Regions from separate parts of the Homo sapiens genome. Here regions 1, 2, 3, 5, 6 and 7 are each linked to region 4. Evidence: promoter capture Hi-C in 16 types of primary human blood cells and fetal thymus (Javierre and others, 2016). All regions are on one chromosome and are shown on one strand. Each heading gives the region's core, a stretch centred on a gene start or on the middle of the fragment in contact. The rest is flanking DNA. Distances are from core to core; before and after follow the strand shown.

What was found. The method cuts DNA at HindIII sites, captures the fragments that hold promoters and counts their contacts. A CHiCAGO score of 5 or more calls a contact.
Region 1: a contact is called between a fragment that was not itself captured here and the fragment with the promoter of HOOK1 in region 4, in 10 of 17 cell types (total B cells, naive CD4 T cells, total CD4 T cells and 7 more). The highest score is 17.4, in total B cells.
Region 2: a contact is called between a fragment that was not itself captured here and the fragment with the promoter of HOOK1 in region 4, in 10 of 17 cell types (naive CD4 T cells, naive B cells, total B cells and 7 more). The highest score is 22.5, in naive CD4 T cells.
Region 3: a fragment that was not itself captured here is called in contact with the fragment with the promoter of HOOK1 in region 4 in 9 of 17 cell types (naive CD4 T cells, total CD4 T cells, non-activated CD4 T cells and 6 more); the score reaches 14.5 in naive CD4 T cells.
Region 5: a contact is called between a fragment that was not itself captured here and the fragment with the promoter of HOOK1 in region 4, in 1 of 17 cell types (activated CD4 T cells). The highest score is 5.8, in activated CD4 T cells.
Region 6: a contact is called between a fragment that was not itself captured here and the fragment with the promoter of HOOK1 in region 4, in 11 of 17 cell types (naive CD4 T cells, naive B cells, total CD4 T cells and 8 more). The highest score is 14.3, in naive CD4 T cells.
Region 7: a fragment that was not itself captured here is called in contact with the fragment with the promoter of HOOK1 in region 4 in 9 of 17 cell types (naive CD4 T cells, non-activated CD4 T cells, total B cells and 6 more); the score reaches 9.7 in naive CD4 T cells.

What each region holds. Positions count from the first base shown.
Region 1 is chr1:58,670,313-58,673,012 of GRCh38, forward strand. It overlaps MYSM1 (Myb like, SWIRM and MPN domains 1), which reads right to left. Exons shown (of 20, transcript NM_001085487.3): 12 at 1,558-1,646. Among named protein-coding and RNA genes, the nearest start is that of MYSM1, 28 kb to the right of the region's middle. The HindIII fragment of the contact is 1,307 bases long and covers 781-2,087 here.
Region 2 is chr1:58,690,250-58,692,949 of GRCh38, forward strand. MYSM1 (Myb like, SWIRM and MPN domains 1) reads right to left here. Exons shown (of 20, transcript NM_001085487.3): 3 at 2,612-2,682; 4 at 91-168. Among named protein-coding and RNA genes, the nearest start is that of MYSM1, 8.5 kb to the right of the region's middle. The HindIII fragment of the contact is 1,985 bases long and covers 323-2,307 here.
Region 3 is chr1:58,716,291-58,718,990 of GRCh38, forward strand. It overlaps LOC112268263 (a long non-coding RNA gene), which reads left to right. Exons shown (of 9, transcript XR_007066129.1): 4 at 1,467-1,630; 5 at 2,271-2,458. Among named protein-coding and RNA genes, the nearest start is that of MYSM1, 18 kb to the left of the region's middle. The HindIII fragment of the contact is 5,773 bases long and covers 1-2,700 here.
Region 4 is chr1:59,813,579-59,816,278 of GRCh38, forward strand. It overlaps HOOK1 (hook microtubule tethering protein 1), which reads left to right and starts at 1,371. Exons shown (of 22, transcript NM_015888.6): 1 at 1,371-1,602. The coding sequence starts at 1,540. It overlaps LOC105378758 (a long non-coding RNA gene), which reads right to left and starts at 1,288. Exons shown (of 5, transcript XR_947426.3): 1 at 1,184-1,288. RefSeq lists a silencer at 839-1,438 and an enhancer at 1,675-2,238. The HindIII fragment of the contact is 6,303 bases long and covers 1-2,700 here.
Region 5 is chr1:58,608,523-58,611,347 of GRCh38, forward strand. No RefSeq gene overlaps it. Among named protein-coding and RNA genes, the nearest start is that of TACSTD2, 33 kb to the left of the region's middle. The HindIII fragment of the contact is 3,858 bases long and covers 1-2,825 here.
Region 6 is chr1:58,732,593-58,735,292 of GRCh38, forward strand. The region is part of intron 5 of LOC112268263 (a long non-coding RNA gene); the gene reads left to right. Among named protein-coding and RNA genes, the nearest start is that of MYSM1, 34 kb to the left of the region's middle. The HindIII fragment of the contact is 3,546 bases long and covers 1-2,700 here.
Region 7 is chr1:58,648,052-58,650,864 of GRCh38, forward strand. No RefSeq gene overlaps it. Among named protein-coding and RNA genes, the nearest start is that of MYSM1, 51 kb to the right of the region's middle. The HindIII fragment of the contact is 987 bases long and covers 796-1,782 here.

The DNA.
Region 1 (2,700 bases), core at 184-2,683, 1.1 Mb before region 4:
AACCGCTGTCAGTGTTTGTTGAGGAACTGCAGAGAATGGGAAAGTTGCTGAAGGACTAGAAATAGACAATTATTGAGCTTGTTTCACAATACAAAAAAGCAGACTGCAGAAAAGGAGGAACTAGATGTTGAACAGTAGTAAAATTCTAGAAAAAATTATGAAACAGCTGATTTGTGATCCTTAACCAAGTGAAGAGGTGACTAAGTAAAATAATGAGTTCATGAAAAGTCATGATAAGTAGACCTTATTGTAGACACTATTGATAGGAATAATCTGTTAGAAACTAAAGACTTAAATATATTTTATCTGAAATTAAACAAGACATCCGATATGATTATCCTTCTGTATAAGATGAAGATATATGCGTTAATTGTGGTAATCTATATAGCTGATTGAAGAATGAATGTCTTCGTTGTTTAAATATATACAATGAGGTTTACATTTATTCAATTAAACATTGCAATCAGTGAGTAATGGCAGGAAAGGCAAGCTTATTGAAATGTTAATGATACAGTGCTACAAAGGCTAAAATGAGAAAAGTGGATCTGGATTCAAAAAGATCCTGAAGACCTTGAACAATGACTTGAAAATCACAATAAATATAAGTCTCACATTTAGAGTCAGAAAATCAATTATCTGGATACTGGATGAGGAGTCCTAGCTTATGGAGGACTATTTTTTACATAGTTTATCTAATTCAGTCTCACGACAACTGTGTAAGTTTTATTTTTACTTTAGAGAGGTAATATATACTGTAATGATTAGGGGTATGAACTCTTAAGCTTAACACTTGGGTTTAAAATCAACAGCTCCACTACTTGACAGCGTGAGCAAGTTATTAAACCTCTCTATGCCTCTCAGTTTCCTCATCTATAAAATGGGAGTGAGAACATTAACTAATGCACAGGGTTGTCATGAAGACTATATGAGCTAATAAATATAAAGTGCTTAAAATACAGCTAACAGTGTTATTTAAATTATTGTTTAATAAATGAGAACCTAAGGATTACCCGAGGACATTTATCAGGCAAAAATATGATCTAGTGGCATTCCTGGATATCTTCTTTTAAAAGGTACACTGACAAAACTACAGTCTATTCAATGGGGCATCTGCAGGAAGAGGGAATAGAAAATCGGAACATTTAACTTATTTGGTGACCCTTAATTTTAAAAGGCTCAAATTTTAGATTACACATGCATTAGAAAACAACAAACCATGCAACAACTTGCTAACAATTAGTACCACCCAAAGAAAACCCAGTCATTTCATGAAGGTTCCTGTCCATAGCGTCTAGAGTTGAATGACCAACCTGTCCTAAACAGGGCCCCTTTACAACATATGTTGGATCATATGTTCAATGAATCTGAACAAATTTAAAATGTTTGTTCAAGGTCTTCCAAATTCATAATCAGTGAAACAAAAAAAATCTAAAAAATTGTAGCAGTATTTTTTTAAACTTAATGTGAACAATATAATGCAGCTATTGAATATTTTTTCATATATTATCTAGCCATTTGTGATAAATGTTTAAAAACCACATTTATATAACACTACACCTTTTTGTTGGTCTTGGCACTTTTAAAGATTTAACAGGTCTGCCTTTTTCCTCTTCTCTTCTTTTTGCCAACTCCTCAGCAGAGAGATGCTAAAACAAAATGCCAATTGATTAAGGAGTCCATCATCTACTAAGAGGCAGAATAAAAATAGTCCTTTAAAATCAAATTGAAGGGCATGTGAGGACAAGAGAGACTAAATTGATATAGATGGGCTTCCTTTTTGCTACCAACATGTAGAAAGACTGGACAGTATTTTTAAAAAATTGTTTCAAAAGACACGGCCATCCCAAACTGAAAATTTACTCCTTCTCTTGATTTGCCCATTTCAATCAATGGTACCAGTCACCCAGGTTCAAAAACGTCAGAATCACCTGAGTCTTTTATTTCCCATTTCTACTTACCATATTCTACTGTGTTGAGTTTTCTTTCACAACTGAGAGACAGTGCAGAGTAATGATTAAGAACAGATTCTGGATCTAGAATGTCTGGCCCAGTTATTTACTAGCTTGGTGACCCTAGGCAAATTCTAAAGCTTTCATGCTTCAGTTACCTCATCTTTAAAAATGGGAACAATAAAATTAATAATAAAAAGTAAACAATAATACCACTGTCATGGTATTATTGTGAAGACTGAGTTAATGTTTATAAAATACTGACATTGTCTGACACACAGTAAGCCCTTTATAAGTGTTTATAAAATAAAGTAAATCTCTATTCCATTTCTACGACCAACTTACACCCTAGTCCAAATGAACTATGCACCTTTTCCAGAATATATCTAGTATTTTCCCATGTCTCCAGCTTTGTTCCCTCAGCCTAAAGTGTATTCATCTCCATTTTGAGATTCTTCTGCAGATCCTTCAGATCAGATTATACCCCACATACTCTACGAAACCTGCCCTGATCACAGCCTTTGGGAGAAACTTACAATTCTTGGGACCAACCTTATTGAACTTACCATAGGTTTTGTCTTTCCTATTAGAAATACAAGCCCCTTATGGGAAGGATGAATTACTAATTACTGTGCCTAGAATAGTACTCAGGTGAGAAGTTGAGGGCAGGGAATGCGGAGGAGGAAAGAGAACTCAAGTTTGAGTACTTTGTGCATGCAAGGCTTACTGAATACCTAGTACTAGCATCTTT
Region 2 (2,700 bases), core at 65-2,564, 1.1 Mb before region 4:
CTGCATCACATGAAAAAAGAAAATAAGGAAGCGTGTGAGGTTTCTAAAACTACAATCCAGACTTTTAGAAATATTATAAATTGATTTTACCTCTTCATGTATTTTTTATCATCTTCCTTTTGATCAAGCCAGACTTTTTCCGGTTGTGATTTTTTAGATAAATAATATCTGTGTAACTATCAAGGAAACTTTTTAAACAATATTACAGTCATGTAATTTTTACATTACTTATACAAAACGTGTGCTACATAAATGTTATTAATAGTTCCCTTGTCTTCCCAATTAGAAGTGACTACAAGAAACAGCCTCCATGTTTAAATCAAGCTTGTCCAATCCTCTGCCTGCAGGCTACATGTGGCCCAGGACGGCTTCAAATGTGGCCCAACACAAATTCGTAAACTTTCTTAAAACACCATGAGATTATTTTGTGATTTTTTTTTTTTTTTTTGGCTCATCAGCTATCATTAGTGTATTTTATGTGGGGCCCAAGAAAATTCTTCTTCCAGTGTGGCCCAGGGAAGCCAAAAGACTGGACACCCTGGTTTAAATATTTTCTTCCAAAACATATGGAGAATGTAATAGGTAAACTTGGTTGGTTGTCCAAGGCAATTCGGGAATAATTTTCCACATTTCTAAAGCCAACAGAGAAGAATCCAAGGATCTTCTCTACCTTAATAAAAATTGCAAACATTTAGATCAAATCTACCAGAGAACTTCCCTCTTAAAGTTATTAGAACTAGCCTGATGAGGCCAGGCGCGGTGGCTCACACCTGTAATCCCAGCACTTTGGAAGGCCGAGGCAGGCGGATCACAAGGTTAGGAGATCGAGACCATCCTGGCTAACACGGTGAAACCCCATCTCTACTAAAAAACAGAAAAAATTAGCCAGGCGTGGTGGCGGGCGCCTGTAGTCCCAGCTACTCAGAAGGCTGAGGCAGGAGAATGGAGTGAACCTGGAAGGCGGAGCTTGCAGTGAGCCAAGTTTGAGCCACTGCACTCCAGCCTGGGCGACAGAGCGAGACTCCGTCTCAAAAAAAAAAAACAAAAACAAAAAACTAGCCTGATGAAGTACTTTAAGATTAGCCTGAGATATTCTTCACTTAACAAGTATTTATTGGCTATCTACTGCATATGTCAGGTACTATGCTAGGTATAGATGCTGAGAACAAAGATACTCTCATTATTTGTTTCCATATCTAGAAGTGAACCACTGACTACTTAAGTGTTTTATCTAGACAGTGGCCACCAACCACATGTGCATCGCTGGTTTCTGACCAGTGGAAACACTATTTGCATGAACTAGGATGTACTCTAAGTATAAAACACAGTGGATTTTGGCCGGGCGCAGTGGCTCACACCTGTAATCCCAGCACTTTGGGAGGCCGAAGCAGGTAGATCCCGAGGTCAGGAGTTCAAGACCAGCCTGGCCAACATGGTGAAACCCCATCTCTACTAAAGATACAAAAAATCAGCCAGGTGTGGTGGTGTGCGCCCATAATCCCAGCTACTCAGGAGGCTGAGGCAGGAGAATCGCTTGAACCAGGGAGGCAGAGGTTGCAGTGAGCCAAGATCGCACCATTGCACTCCAGCCTGGGTGACAAGGCGAGATTCCGTCTCAAAAAACAAACAAAACAAAACACAGTGGATTTCAAAGACTTAGTACAAAAATGTAAAATTATCTCATTAATGTTTTTATCTTGATTAAATGTTAAAATGAGAATATTTTAAATATTTTAGGTTATATAATATATAGTTAAAATTAATTTCCTTTGTGTTAAATGAGGATATCGGAAAATTTTAAATTATATGTGACTTTCTCTGAATAGCAATAATCTAGGCTATAACTGCAATGTCTGGGGAGAATTAGAGAATAAGAAAGCCTAAATGGGGTTAACCTATGATAATTAAAGGTACAGAGACACTCTAAAATCAACATGGCAATAAGTGGAAATAGTGGGAACAGAGAAATTCTGGCTTAGTAAGGAGAAATCCATAAAATGAAGATGAAGGAGATTAATAAACCACTACTTATTAGACTATGACTAGCTATCTTTATAAATCATAAAATCAGAAATCATTTCATTCAATCCTCTCCTTTTACATGTACGAAAACTGAGCTATAAATAAGGATCCACAAATGTAGGGAAAACATCTTCATTCTATAGTATTTGTTTTGTGCTTTTTATTTAGATTCCTCCCACGTAACACCTGTAAATTATGAAGTGAGAAGAACTTTTACATGTTCCAACTCTGTGCCCTTGGAAAATTAACATCTCTGGGTTTCAGCTTATATAACTTAAAAATGCAAGCTTGGACTTAAGGTTCAAAATGACTTAAATATTCTATCATTTCTACTCAATATTCAGATATCATAAACAGTTGGCTAGTGACAGAAACTCAAAATATGCAATCAGATCTCAGATGTTACAGTAAAACAGAACCTGAGGAAGAAAATGCTGCTTTTTGCATACATAGGTAACATGAAATTATATAATAGCAGTCTGGTGCTGTATAAAATCCATCTAGTAAACAGTGGCCTCTTGTAAATTTTGCATTTATAGATTTTTTTCACCCTGAAACCTGTACTTTCCTCATAATCATTAAAGGATACTCTTCTTCCAACAACATTTTCTCAATAACAGCTCTGTTCTCTTCACTGATGGTGTTATCCAAGGTCCAAGGCTATTAAAAAAGAGAATA
Region 3 (2,700 bases), core at 123-2,622, 1.1 Mb before region 4:
TCTGTATTAGTCTGCTCTTGCATTGTAATAAAGAGCTACCTGAGACTGGGTAATTTATGAAGAAAAGTGGTTTAATTGGCTCACATTTCCACAGGCAGTATAGGAAGCATGAATGAGGAGGCCTCAGGAAACTTACAATCATGGCAGAAAGTGAAACGGAAGCAGGCACATCTTACATGGCTGCAGTAGGAGGAAGGTGGGGGTGGGAAGGTGCTGCACACTTTTAAACAACCAGATCTCTTGATAATTCAGTCAACAGCCTGAGAACAGCACCCGGGATGGGGGGATGGCATTAAACCATTAGAAACTGCCCCTATGATCCAATCACCTCCCACCAGGCCCCACCTCCAACACTGAGGATTACAATTGAACATGAGATTTGGGTGGGGACACAGACTGCATCCAAGCCACATCAAGGTCTCTATCTTTACCTATTTTGACACAGCTCCTAATGTCCTACCTCAGACATAGGACATTTCATAGGATGAGAATCTCATCATCTATTTTAGAACCCTGCATAATATAATAAAATAGACCTACTAAGAGCATCAACAAAAATCTCATATTGCCATCTTTTTGTTTATTCTGACTTGAGGACTTAAAGTGTAGAAGGTCTTCCACAATGTGTTTTACGTATAAACTCCATGCCACAGGTTGTTTTCTATCACATTTATGAGAAAGCCAAGAACTGTTTTTAGAAAGTCATTGTTTAGGTAAAATATGATAGTAAAAATAATTTTGAAAGTACAGATATTGTGTTAATTATTTACATATGAGGGTGTGTTTTGAAGGCCACATGCTGTCCCTAACTGTTCTAACCCTTCGAGGGATTTACTTTGGAAGAAAAAACTGGACATCAAGGAATTATTCATATACATTTTCTGTGTTTTCATTTAAGATGGGAAGGGATTTTTCAAGGTTTTCCACGCTTTTATTTGATTTAATTTCATGCTCACTGAAGCCCATTTCCATCACAGTCACCAACACCTTGAACTTGCTGTGATTTTCCCCTGTTAAGCAGCCCAGATGAGATTCAGTGAGATTCTTGGCTTCTAGGCCCCATGTCTTGGAAACAGACCTCACTGCATCAGTGAAGATTCCAGGGCATTCTTCTTACTGATCCGACTAAGCCTTTGAAAATATAATATGACCACTTGGATTTTTCAGCATTAGCTTGAATCTGGCATAAAAGGAGCCAGAGATGTTGGAAGGCTCTGTCGCCTGGGGGTGCAGTGGTTACACCTCATTAGCCCCAGAGCAAGGGCCCCTTTCCCCTTTTTCCTTGGGCCTCTGTATCTTCCCATCCTGGCCTGGGGCTGAGACTGCCTGGGCCTGGGGGAGGGAGCACAGAGTCATCTGAGGCCCTTCCCAGGACAGCCTGTAGACCCACACCCACCCTTACATTCTACAGCAGGGATTTCATCTTTATTTCCATTTTGTCTGATCACGGCTTGTTCTAATTTAAGAACTTAGGTGGATTCTCAGAAAGAAAAAGGTGATGTTCACTGGCATGAACAGTGAATGGTGGAGTGGAACGTGAACAGGCTGGAGCTCTGGCTGTGCCATTTATTAGCCATGTGCCTTTAGAAGGTCCTCATCTTCTCCAGCCTCAGTTTCACCATCTGTAATGGTAGGTAAGAACCTCTACTTCAGAAGGCTGTTGGAAAGACGAAATGGTATGAGACAAAATGAAATAATGACATCCTAAGTGGAAAGGGCTCGCCTGGGGTCTGGTTAACAAGTATCACTGCCTCAGGTAACAGTCTTTCTCAGCAGTGCTGCATACAAACCTCCTCTGGCTTTGACCTTAACAGCCATTGTAGGTCAGTGTTCATAGCAGCCCCCACTCAAGTGAGGGTCCAGCTCTGCAATGAGTTGTGCCTAAGAAGGTCACAGGGGACCAGCCCCTGCTGTGTAGCGCAGGGAGGAGGGCTCTGTCATTTCTGGCCATCATGGCCCTTTGCAGTCAGCCTCAGCCTGAGATAAATATCACACTCTTGCATCTCACTTTATATCTGAGATCATCTGGCCCTGCCCACATCCTCCTCTGCTAAATGAGTAGAACAGACGGACTCTAAAGCTGCAGAATGATTTTAAAAATAAATAAAACCAAATAACAACTTGAGTCTAATGATTTCCCTTCAGGTTGTGCAAGCAGGAAAGTTTAAAATCACATAAGAATGACTTGAGGGAAAAGAACACCCCTTTCTGCTCCCGGTAAACACAATCAGCTTTGCTGGTCTGGGTTTTTTAATGATCTGCATTTACAGGAGTATCCATGACCCAGAGAGAGTATCAGTGTCAAGAATCTGCCAGTGAGAAAGTGATTTGAAGCAGCTCTGGAGTTCAGATGGCCACGGGTGCAAGTGCCTGCTCTGGTGTGCTTTGCCTCTGGAAAGATGCCAAGTCTTTGAGAATCTTTGCTGCATCAGCCATGCTACATCCTGAGGACTTGGAGGTGAGGAAATCCTGTGTGCACTTGTTTCCTTCCCTTCAAATGATATATCCCAGAAAAATGGCAAGCTCTCTGCTTACTAACTCTTTTCTTTTTCTTTAGTTCCCCCTTAGCTTTCTCTCTCCTTTCTTCCGTCTTTCTCTTGCCTCCTTTCATTTTTGGTAAAATCCAAAGCGAAATGTCAACTCAGAGGACATAGCTGTTTGTCTTCACCACCTACAAACTGTATTTCCTGGATCAAGCCG
Region 4 (2,700 bases), core at 121-2,620:
CAGAGCATGAATTGATGAGTTTATGAATGAGTGAAGTGACAGCAAGACTAAGAATAGTCTAGCCCTTTTCAATCACCTAAGCCATCTATCAATACCTTGGAGAGCTTCCAATTTCAGGTCACCTCCCCCGACCCCCCTCCACCCCACAACATTCTCGGAAAAAGCAAATTTTCAACTGACAAAGGAAAATGGATACATTAATATCTTCCATGTTTTTCAAAACATTTCGTTTATTTTGCTACTTGAAAACGGTCTTCCCTTTTGCCCCATGTAAAATAAAATTGCTCATGATCTATGGTCCCGTGAGAGCTTATTTAAGGAGCACTGACGGATTCTATTTTCCTTATTAATGTGGCATATTTGCCACGTGTGCAAATGAAAACATCCCTTTCCAATGAGTGCCTAGGAGGAAATCAGCTCTTCCTTCCTCGAAGAGTTTTAATTCATGGGTATGATCTATTTCTTTCTTTCTTTATTTTGTTTTATATATTTTTTAGAGACAGAGTCTCGGTTTTTTGTCCAGGCTGGGGTGCAGTGGCATGATCTCGGCTCACTGCAACCTGTGCCTCCCGGGTTCAAGCGATTCTTCTGCCTCAGCCTCCTGAGTAGCTGGGATTACAGTCATGTGCCACCACCCCCGGCTAATCTTTGTATTTTTAGTAGAGAATGGGTTTCGCCATCTTGGCCTGGCGGGTCTCGAACTCCTGACCTCAGGTGATCCACCCGCCTCAGCCTCCCAAAGTGCTAGGATTACAGGCGTGAGCCACCTCGCCCAGCCGGTAGGATCTATTTCTGAAGACAATGTGGAAGCAGAGTGTGGGCCCTCCACAGGTGTAGCGAGGCGGCGTGCTACCGCGAAGAAGGAGGGAAGACGCCTGAGCCCAGCCGGTGCCCTGCTGCCCCTCTGCCTCTTCGGCCACTGGGGCTGAGCTTCAGCCTTACCAATCCCCGCCGCGCACGCGCGCTCGCTTCCCGCGCGCAACCTCCCACCCCCGCCCTCACTGCACCTGCCAGGTCATAAACCTCTTCCCACCCACTCTCACTCTCTACCCAAGGCTCAGGCTTGTCTCACGTTGATTGGCCAGAGCCCACGAGGGCACGTCCAATCAGCAATCCCCCCTGCGCAACCTATCCCGGTTCTTCCCGCCCCCGCCCCGCCCCGCCCGCCCCCCCGGGTACCTACCGTCTCTGTGACTGGTGCGCGGCCAGGTCACTCAGGGCGGCGGGGCGAGGTGTGCGGGAGTGGGCAGGACGGGTGGGAGGAGGGGAGGGGTGGGAGAAGGCGGGGCTCAGGTGCCTGGCAGCGCGGCCGGGGCCCAGGAAGGGGAGGGGGCGAACGCTGGAGCGAGGCGGGGGCGGGTGAGGAGGGGGTGACGCCGGACGCGTCGACAGCGCGAGGGTTCGCGCGTGAGCTGCGCGGGTCGGGCCTGGTACCGAGCTTTCCTGGGGGCTAGCAGGTCGTGGACGCCGGCTCCTGGAGGAGAGCCGGTAGGAGGGAGTGTGAAGGTGTCCGCGGCGTCGTCGACGGCGGCGCCGGCCATGGAGGAGACGCAGCCGCCGCCGCAGCCTAAGCTGCCCCTGTGCGACAGCCTCATGATCTGGGTGAGTGCGAGGAGGCGAGAGGGCGAGGGGGCCAGGGGGCCGAGGCGAGGAGCCTGGGGCGCCCGGTTCTCCCAGGTGAGCTGGGGCTACCTGCACAGGGTCCCGGCGCACCCTGCCCTTCTCACCTCGTGCCCTTGACCGAGAGAATGCCACCTGCGGGTCGACGGGCAGGTGTGTGGGCGCGGGTTGGTGTCCGGGGGTGGGGGTAAAGGAAGCTCTGGGAGCGTAACAGTGGAGGCTCTGGTCTCAACCAGAGGATTCGACCTGCCTGGTGCCCTAACAGCTGGGATATGAACCAAGCACCCATCCTCTTTTCTCCCCGCTGCCCCATTTTCTCCCCCTGAACAGCGCCCGAGCCCTCCACTTTCTGGATCGCCGACTCTCTTGCCTTGGTCCGCTTGGGCGTGAAGACCCTTTCCGAAACCTAACCCTGCATCCTCAAACTACCTTGCTCTACCTGGACACAGGTGGCCAGGAGGTGGCTGGCTGTTTTAGTTCCCGGACCAATGCTCCTTCAGGACTCTAGAACATCCGATTTTGTAGAAGCCGCTTCAAAGAGATGTTTGTATTTCCCGTATGGAGAAAAAGATGTGTTGGGAGTCGGGGGTCGTTTTCCCTTTTTCTCGCTGGCCCTCTCCTCCTCTAAATGGACAGCATTTTCTTTAAAGAAAATGAGTTGACATTTTTCTTTAGGATTTATCTGTGTTTAGGATTTTTGTTAATTTGTGTTGGGTCTGGACAGGCATATCTGTCCCCAGATTGTTCAATATTCCAGTCAGCAAAATGACATCCCACCTCTTAGAGTTACTTAGATATCAGTGCTGGCATTCAGGTGTGGTTCTTAACCCATATTGAGTAAAGATGGTGTTTGATGAGCCACAAGGTGCTGTTGATGATGCTCATCCCAAACCAGTTGTTTAGTTGCGTCTAGGGGAGTGTGTGCAGATGGAATGTAAACAGACGGGATCAGGAGGCTGTAATCGGTTGAGATTCCCTAGTGATCTAATGCATCTAATTCCAAAGAATGAGAAATCTAGGTTTATGGAAATGTGTGAAGCCTATTGGAAATAGCCATAATTTAAAGCATTTACACTTTGT
Region 5 (2,825 bases), core at 95-2,594, 1.2 Mb before region 4:
TTTTCTGCATTCTTTTCTGTGTCTCTTCATTCTTTTCTGCATCTCTGACTTCCAATCTGGAATCTGGTTTCCAGCCCTAAATTTCCTGGCTTCAGCACTGGCAAATTCTATTTTCCCAGGGAGGGGAAAAAAAGTACCTGACCAGGCCCAAAGACTTCATTTATTTTCTTCATTATTTTATTTACCTCTATAGGGGCTTTTTCCAAGTCACCCTCAATGGGATTTCCTTTACTCTATCTTCTGTAACAGCCAGAGCACATCAAATACATAGAAGCTGGCATTCTAGGCCATAGTAATTGTTCAGTAGGTACTTTATCTTGTTTACTTTGTTGGATAGCCTTTCTTAACAAACTTTCTCTGATATCTCAGTCTCAGATACAAGTCTCCCTGCCTTTAACCATTGTATCAGTTAGGACTTGCATTAACTGCAAACAAGTAAAAACTCAACCACATTTTACAGTTAGGCATTACACATATGCACACATGTATGTGTACACACACACACACACACAGAGAGAGAGAGAGCGAGAGAGAGAGAACTCTAGAACTTCTAGTCCCATGGCTTAAAAGTGTCAGGACCACTGACTCCACATTTTTCCAGGCACCTTCCTAATGCCTGTGAGTCAGCTAGTATTGCTTCAGCCATGACATCTATATTCCAGACAAAAAGTAGAAGGAAGAAGAAGAAAGGAAATGTCTCTACCTGTATCAGGTATATCAACCAGACTGAGAAATCCCCACTAGTCCGTTGCTTACACCTCATTGGTCACAACTCAGTCAAATGGCTACCTCAATCTGAATGAGAGGCTAGAAAATGTGTATATATGTGTTAGTTGTGCACTTCGCTATCCTAAACAAAACTGCAGTTCTGGCAAGGAAACATTGACTTTGGGTTGACAATCAACAGTTTGCCCTCTCCCTACTCTTCCCTTGGCATAGGATGCCCTTCCCTCCTCCCCACCTACTGAAATCTTATTAGAATATCACCTCTTCCAGGAAGTCTTTTCAGGTTATCTCAGTAGGAATTTTCTTTTAATTCTTCAGTTTAATAAGCAATATCTTGTTTGCCTAGTAACTGCAAGGCGCTACTAAGATACTATAGATGGAGATAAGTAAAATAGCGTTACTGTCCTGATAGAGCTCAGTTTACTTTTAGTATCTAAAAATCAGACTCCAATTATTATTTAATGATTACAGAGTTTCTATTTGAGGTGATGAAAAGGTTTTGGAAGCAGATCATGAGGATGGTAGCACAACAGTGTGAATGTACAACTGACCCTTAAGCAACATGGGTTTGAATTGCATGGGTCTATTTACAGAAAGATTTTTTCCAACCAAATGCAGATTGAAAACACAGTATTTGCAGAATGTGAACCCAAGTGTAAAGAGGGCTAACTTTTCATGTATATAGGTTCCACAGGGCTTGACTACAGGACTTGAGTATACAGGATTTGGATATATGTTGGGGGCAGAGGAGTTCTAGAATTAATCCCACTTGTATACTGAGGGGTGTCTATAATTAACACCACTGAATTGTACACTTCAAAATGATTACAATAGCAAATTCTGTGTTATATATATTTTATCACAGACAGGCAAATCGGACTCCAAATCCAAAAATGCCAGCATGGTGTGAAAATACAGACAGAAAGGAGGTATGGGTGTTGGGGTGCATAGAAAAGTCATTTAAATTACCTAGGCATTGGATCCTGTTCTGATGCTGTCTATTAGTTCATCTTCACACTGCCATAAAGACATATTCAAGACTGGGTAATTTATGAAGAAAAGAGGTTTTATTGACTCACAGTTCTGCATGGCTGGGGAGGCCTCAGGAAACTTACAATCATGGTGGAAGGGAAAGAGGCATGTCCTACATGGAAGCAGATGAGAGAGAGTGAGCAAGAGCAGGGAAAACTGCCCTATAAAACCATCAGATCTCTTGAGAACTCACTCATTATCATGAGAACAGCATGGGGGGAAGTGCCCCCATGATTCAATCACCTCCCACCTTGTCCCTCCCTTGACACATGGGGATTGTGGGGATTACAATTCAAGATGAGATTTGGGTGGGGACACAGAGCCAAACCACATCACACTGCTAGTTCTGTCTACTGAGAAGCAGATGCGGAGATGCAGTTAGGACAAACAGGCATATTTGGGTAAACTTGTGAAAGGAATTTCTTCTACTTTCACAAGAAACTTCTTTTCTTAGAAGCAGGACTGGTCAGAGGAAGCCATTAAACCGTGAAGTAGATCAAGTAGAAAAAGCCTCTCTGCCTAAAGGGGAGCTCTAGAGGAAAGAGCCCATTACAGGAATCCTGCTTTGGGTGGAAGTGCCTAAACCTTGCTCAGTCATTGGCTGGGGCTGCACTGGGAAGAACTGAAGGAGACCAGAAAGAACAAGTGGAAGCTGTCAGCCCACCACCTTCTCACAGCTAGGCAAGGCATCCTTTCTTGCAAGGGAATAAGTACAGCCCACCTCTGTCTGCCACAGCTGCTACTAGCTATGTGATCTTGTGGCATTTGAGCTTTCTGTGCCTCAGTTTTTTCATTTGCAAAATAAATATAATAATAAAAATAGCAACCCAATCTGGTTATTGGAACAACTATATGAGCTAATGAATGAATAGTGCTTAGAATAGTGTCTGTTTAATTATAGGTGCTCATTAAATGTGGGCTATCATTATCAATATTGCCAAGCAGAATGTACATTATGAAATAAACACAAAACTAAATTACATATATATGATACAGTAAATATAAATCAAAGTTCTGATATCTTCTGGACCTTGATTGGTTTTGTTCTATTTTTAGACTTCTGGTTT
Region 6 (2,700 bases), core at 64-2,563, 1.1 Mb before region 4:
GGGTTACGAGACAAAGGGCATTTTAAGCAGAGACAACAGCATAAGCACAAGGCCTTGCATTATGGCAGAAGGGCCAAGATGAGGTCAAGTTGCACAGATAATGTAAGGGAAGACTTCCCATAAGAAGTTTTGAATGCATTGAAATACGTAACTCGTCATTCATTACTTCGGTAATTCAACAGTTATTTATTGAGTGCCTTTACATGTCAGGTAACATGTTACAAAACTGGAATTGGAAATTACTCAAATCCTATGTCAAAATATCACTGCATAGGCTGGGCTCAGTGGCTCGTGCCTGTAATCCCAGCACTTTGGGAAGGCAAGGCAGGTGGAACACTTGAGGTCAGGAGTTCGAAACTAGTCTGGCCAACATGGTGAAACCCCGTCTCTCCTAAAAATACAAAAGTTAGCCAGGTGCAGTGGCACATGCCTGTAATTCCAGCTACTTGGGAGGCAGGAGAATCGCTTGGACCAGGGAGGCGGAGGTTGCAGTGAGCCGAGATTGTGCCACTGTACCGCAGCCTGGGTGACAGAGTGAGACACTGTCTCAAAAAAAAAAAAAAAAAAGAAAAAAAAATCTCTGCTTATATCTAGAACTTCCTCTCCTCCTTTAAAACAAACAAGTCTGAGAGGCCAGGTGCGGTGGCTCACGCCTGTAATCCCAGCACTTTGGGAAGCCGAGGTGGGCGGATTATGAGGTCAGGAGATTGAGACCATCCTGGCTAACACAGTGAAACCCCGTCTCTACTAAAAAATACAAAAAATTAGCCAGGTGTGGTGGCGGGCGCCTGTAGTCCCAGCTACTCGGGAGGCTGAGGCAGGAGAATGTCGTGAACCCGGGAGGCAGAGCTCGCAGTGAGCCGAGATCACGCCACTGCACTCCAGACTGGGCGACAGAGTAAGACTCCGTCTCAAAAAATTAATAAATAAATAAAAAAGAGTGTCCCGCAGAACAACAGTTCCTTGGGATATTAACAGGTAAAACAAACAAGTCTGTACAATTTTGTCTCATTGGCAAAACTAGCAGCTAAAGTCCCTTAGCTGGCTTTTGAGTGAAATAAACTATGAATACTTATAATAGATTAAGAGGCAAGCATAAGGGAAAGTAAAGATAAGCAGAGAAAAGTGACAATATCTTTGGGCTGGGGAGGGCCTTGTCTGTCATATGGTTCAACCTGTTTATTCTGCTGAGTTCTGGAGTGAAGGGACTTGCCCAAGCTCTCTTCATTCCCTGTATTGGTTCCTTTCTTCTCATACTCCCTGCCAGGGTCTGCCTTCAGTGTCTCATCATGTTTCGCTTGGATTGTTATAGTAGCCTTCAAACAAATCTCCCCGCTTTTACACAGCAGCTCAGAGATAATTCAGAAAAGCAACTTCTGGATTTTACTTTGTTCCTCAAAGCCGTTCAATATCTTCATGTTGTCTCAGGTTGTGCTCCCCAAACTGTTGTATGTGACCAGGTCCCAGAGCCATAAGCTAAACATAATATCACTTTAAAATGCTAATTTTACGTGATGGCTAGTAACTAAAAACATCATTTTACATGAAAACAAATGAATATATTATAGCCAAGATGAAAAATTTGGATGGGCTGAAATATTTCAAAGAATTTTTTTTTAGTTGTAGCAGTTGGTGTCAGAACCCTTGCATATTAGTTCATACTCATATTACTATAAAGAAATGCCTGAGACAGGGTAATTTACAAGAAAAGAGGTTTAATTGGCTCACAGTTCTGCAGGCTGTACTGGAAGCATGGTGGCATCTGCTTCCGGGGAGTCCTCAGGGAGATTTTCATCATGGCAGAAGGCAAAGAGGGAGCAGGCACTTCACATGGCAAAAGCAGGAGCAAGAGAGAGGGAAGGGGGAGGTGCCACACACTTTGAAACCACCAGATCTCATGAGAATTCACTCACTGTCCTGAGGACAGTACCAAGGGGACAGTACTAAAACATTCATGAGAAATTGTCCCTATGATCAATCACCTCCCACCAGGCTCCACCTCCAACATTGGGGATCACAGCTCAACATGAGATTTGCAGAGGGAACACAGATCCAAACATATTACCTTAGCAGCACAAGTTTGCTCTTTCCGCCATAAGAGGTGTTTCAGTGGGAAAGTTTATAATTTCTTGGCCCATAGAATAAATGCCAAGTCATTAGTTCATATCCCAGTTTCTCCAAGATCTGTTCAGGCCTGCTTGCCACTCACCCTCTTCTCTTTAATAGATTCTTGGAGACTCCACTCATCAACCATCCCATACCACTTGTATTAGTTTGTTCTTGCATTGCTATAAAGAAATACCTGAGACTGGGTAATTTATAAGGAAAAGAGGGTTTAATTGGCTCATGGTTTCACAGGCTGTAAAGGAAGCATGATGCTGGCATCTGCTCAGTTTCCAGGGAGGCCTCAGGAAACTTTTAATCATGGTCGAAGGTGAAAGGGAAGCAGGGATGTCTTACATGGTCAGAGAAGGAGCAAGAGAGAGAGGGGAGAGGTGCTACACACCATTACACAACCAGATCCCATGATAACTCACTGGCTCACTACACAGTACCAAGGGAGGATGGTGCTAAACCATTCATGAGAATTTCACCCCCATGATCCAACCACCTCCAACACTGAGGATTGCTATTCAGCACGAGATTTGGGCAGGAACAGAGATCCAAACCATATCACCACTTAAAATAGTAACTACTGCC
Region 7 (2,813 bases), core at 39-2,538, 1.2 Mb before region 4:
TAATGAATCAATGCATGGGGTCTGACTTAGCAGGTCTGGAGAGTGGGAGAAGCAGACCCTCAAGAAGTGACCTGATTTACCTTGTGGAACCCCCAAAGCTCAAGAATTTGTAGCACCAGGGACATCTGGAATTGGGGATGCCAGTGGGGCTAGAATGATGATAGCTGGTAGAAGGTGGGTTGTGGGTTTAAGGCTAGGCACGGTGGCTCACGCCTGTAATCCCAGCACTTTGGGAGGCTGCCGGGGGAGGATCACTTGAGGTCAGGAGTTGGAGACCAGCCTGGCCAACATGTTGAAACCCCATCTCTACTAAAAATAGAAAAATTAGCCAGGCGTGGTGGTGAATGCCTGTAATCCCAGCTACTCAGGAGGCTGAGGCAGGAGAATCGCTTGAACCTGGGAGATGGAGGTTGCAGTGAGCCGAAATCACACCACTGCACTCCAGCCTGGGTGGCACAGTGAGACTGTCTCAAACACACACACACACACACACACACACACACACACACACACACACACACACACACAGAGAGAGAGAGAGAGAGAGAGAGAGAGAGAGAGAGAGAAAGTGGGTTTAAGATGTAGTTATCCCTTAGTGGCTTCCTGCTTCCTTAGCAGGCTACTGACCATCTCACCCCCAAGAGGGTAGTCGCTGCCTGGTCAGTCTCTGGAGAAAGTGAAGCAGAACCTTTCTGGAGTGGGGAAAAATTGGAGGATTAGGTGAAAGTTTACATGCTCAATTTTGAGGTGTCTATATCTTTTCTCCTACTTGGCTCCCCAGGGATCTGGAAGCCAAGCTTAAAACTTGGGTGAGAGATTGGGCAGACATTGGAAATAAACAGGGCCAACCATAAGGGCCACTGTACTTCCCAGTGCCTCCTCCCTTCAGCCAAATCGGCTCTGCTTGGTTCCTTCCTTCCTTCCCTCTCTCCCTCCGTCTCTCTCTCTTTCTAGATGTAACTCATAGATCATCAAGTTCACCACTTTTAAGTGTGGTTTTTAGTATCCGGAGTGGTTTTTAGTATATTCACAAGGTTGTACAACCGTCACCATCACCACTAATTCCAGAACATGTCATCACCCCAAAAAGACATCCTGTATCCATTAGCAGTCACTCCCCAATCCCTTCTTCCCACCTGAGACTCTGGCAACTTCTAATCTACTTTTTCTATCTATGATTTGCTTATTCTGGACATTTTCTAGAAATGGAATAATACAAAATGTGGTCATTTATGTCTGACTTCTTCACTAAGCATAATGTTTTCAAGGCTCATTAATGTTGTAATATATGTCAGTGCTTTATTTCTCTTTGTGGCTGAATAATAATTCCATTGTATGGGTAGACCATGTTTAATTTATCCATTTATCAGTTGATATCCAGTTGGGTTTTTTCTATTTTTTGGTTATTACTTGTTTTATATGCTTGGTTTTAATGCAAGATTTGTTTTCAACAGCGATTTCTAACTAAATAAAAGTCTGAATACTACTGGCTTAGAGAAACCTTTTCATTTTAGGATTTGAAGATGTTGGCTGTTGATTGCCTGAATCTCTTTCCATGAGGAACATGAAAGCACCCCTCTCTAAAATAGCATTGGACACCCTGGGGGACCTGACCCCATGTCCACATCCCCTTCTGTGGTCCCCGACTCCTAGCCACACACGATGCACACCAGCCTCACGGAAATCTACAATTCTTGGCACTGTGCCACCGCTTCCGGGGCACCTTCTGCCTAGAGTGCCTTTTCTCTCTTCTCTTCCTGTCCAGATCTATTTCACCAAGAAAGCTTTTGACCAGAAATCCAGGGCTCCTATTGTACAGCCCTGTCTCTCTACAAAACCAGAAGGAACTTCATGCCACATAGAGCCCTGCAGGTCCCACAGCCTGTCCCAGGTCCCTGGATCAGGAGGGAGGGCTCTTGAACGCGTAAACCCCAGGGACATGGCAAAATCCTTTCCTTCTCCTTTTGCAGCAACAAAAGGCCCCCAAGCCCTCCAAATGTCTGCTTTTTAGCATTGCTATTTTGGTTCTATTGTTGTTCTCCCTCCTAAGGAGGAGACGGTAACTAACTGCATTCTGGGTCTGCCCAGAGTATGATATATCTTCCTCCGCTGGGCCCTGGGCAGAGAAGCTGGGCTGCATTGATTTCCTGGGTGAAACGGAAGTGCAATTCACAGGCATCTTTCAAAGTGGAGAAAGGTCCTGGGTGTGGGCTGGAGCTGGACCTGTCTCTCCTGGCTCCCCTCAGGCAGGGCTGTGGATGATGCACCTAGTCCTGTTTGCCTGACAGAAAAATCACTTGCCCAGAAAATGCAGAACCCATCCCACTGCTGGACCTCAAATCCAGCATGACTAAGGCACCTTAGTCATCTTTAAATGGATTCTACCCTTTTGCCTGTTTTTTCTGTTTTTTGGTTTTTTTTTTCATTTTGTTTTCCATGTATGAACCCCACAGAAGAGAACACAAGGTGATGGATGAAAATGTTTGAGCAGTTGCTACCCAACTCGTAGTGATAAAAATACTCAGGATATAAAGTGGTAACACCGCTGACGCCTCATAATTACCCAAGTTATGTTGCACTTTTGATTAGAAAATGCAATTATGTTTATAGTGTTATAATCTCACCTGCCTTTGTGTTTTTGAGAAAATTGCAAGAGAATACCTCTCCTGGAGTAGGCTGCCCTTGCTAATCAGTTGATTCATGTCTCTTGAAGTGCTCATTGCACTTAAGATAATGAAGAGATGTGGCTTCTCCGGGGCTCTCAGCTCCCACCTAGACTCTGGGGCTTGTTTTTCAGAACAAACAGCTTTGTC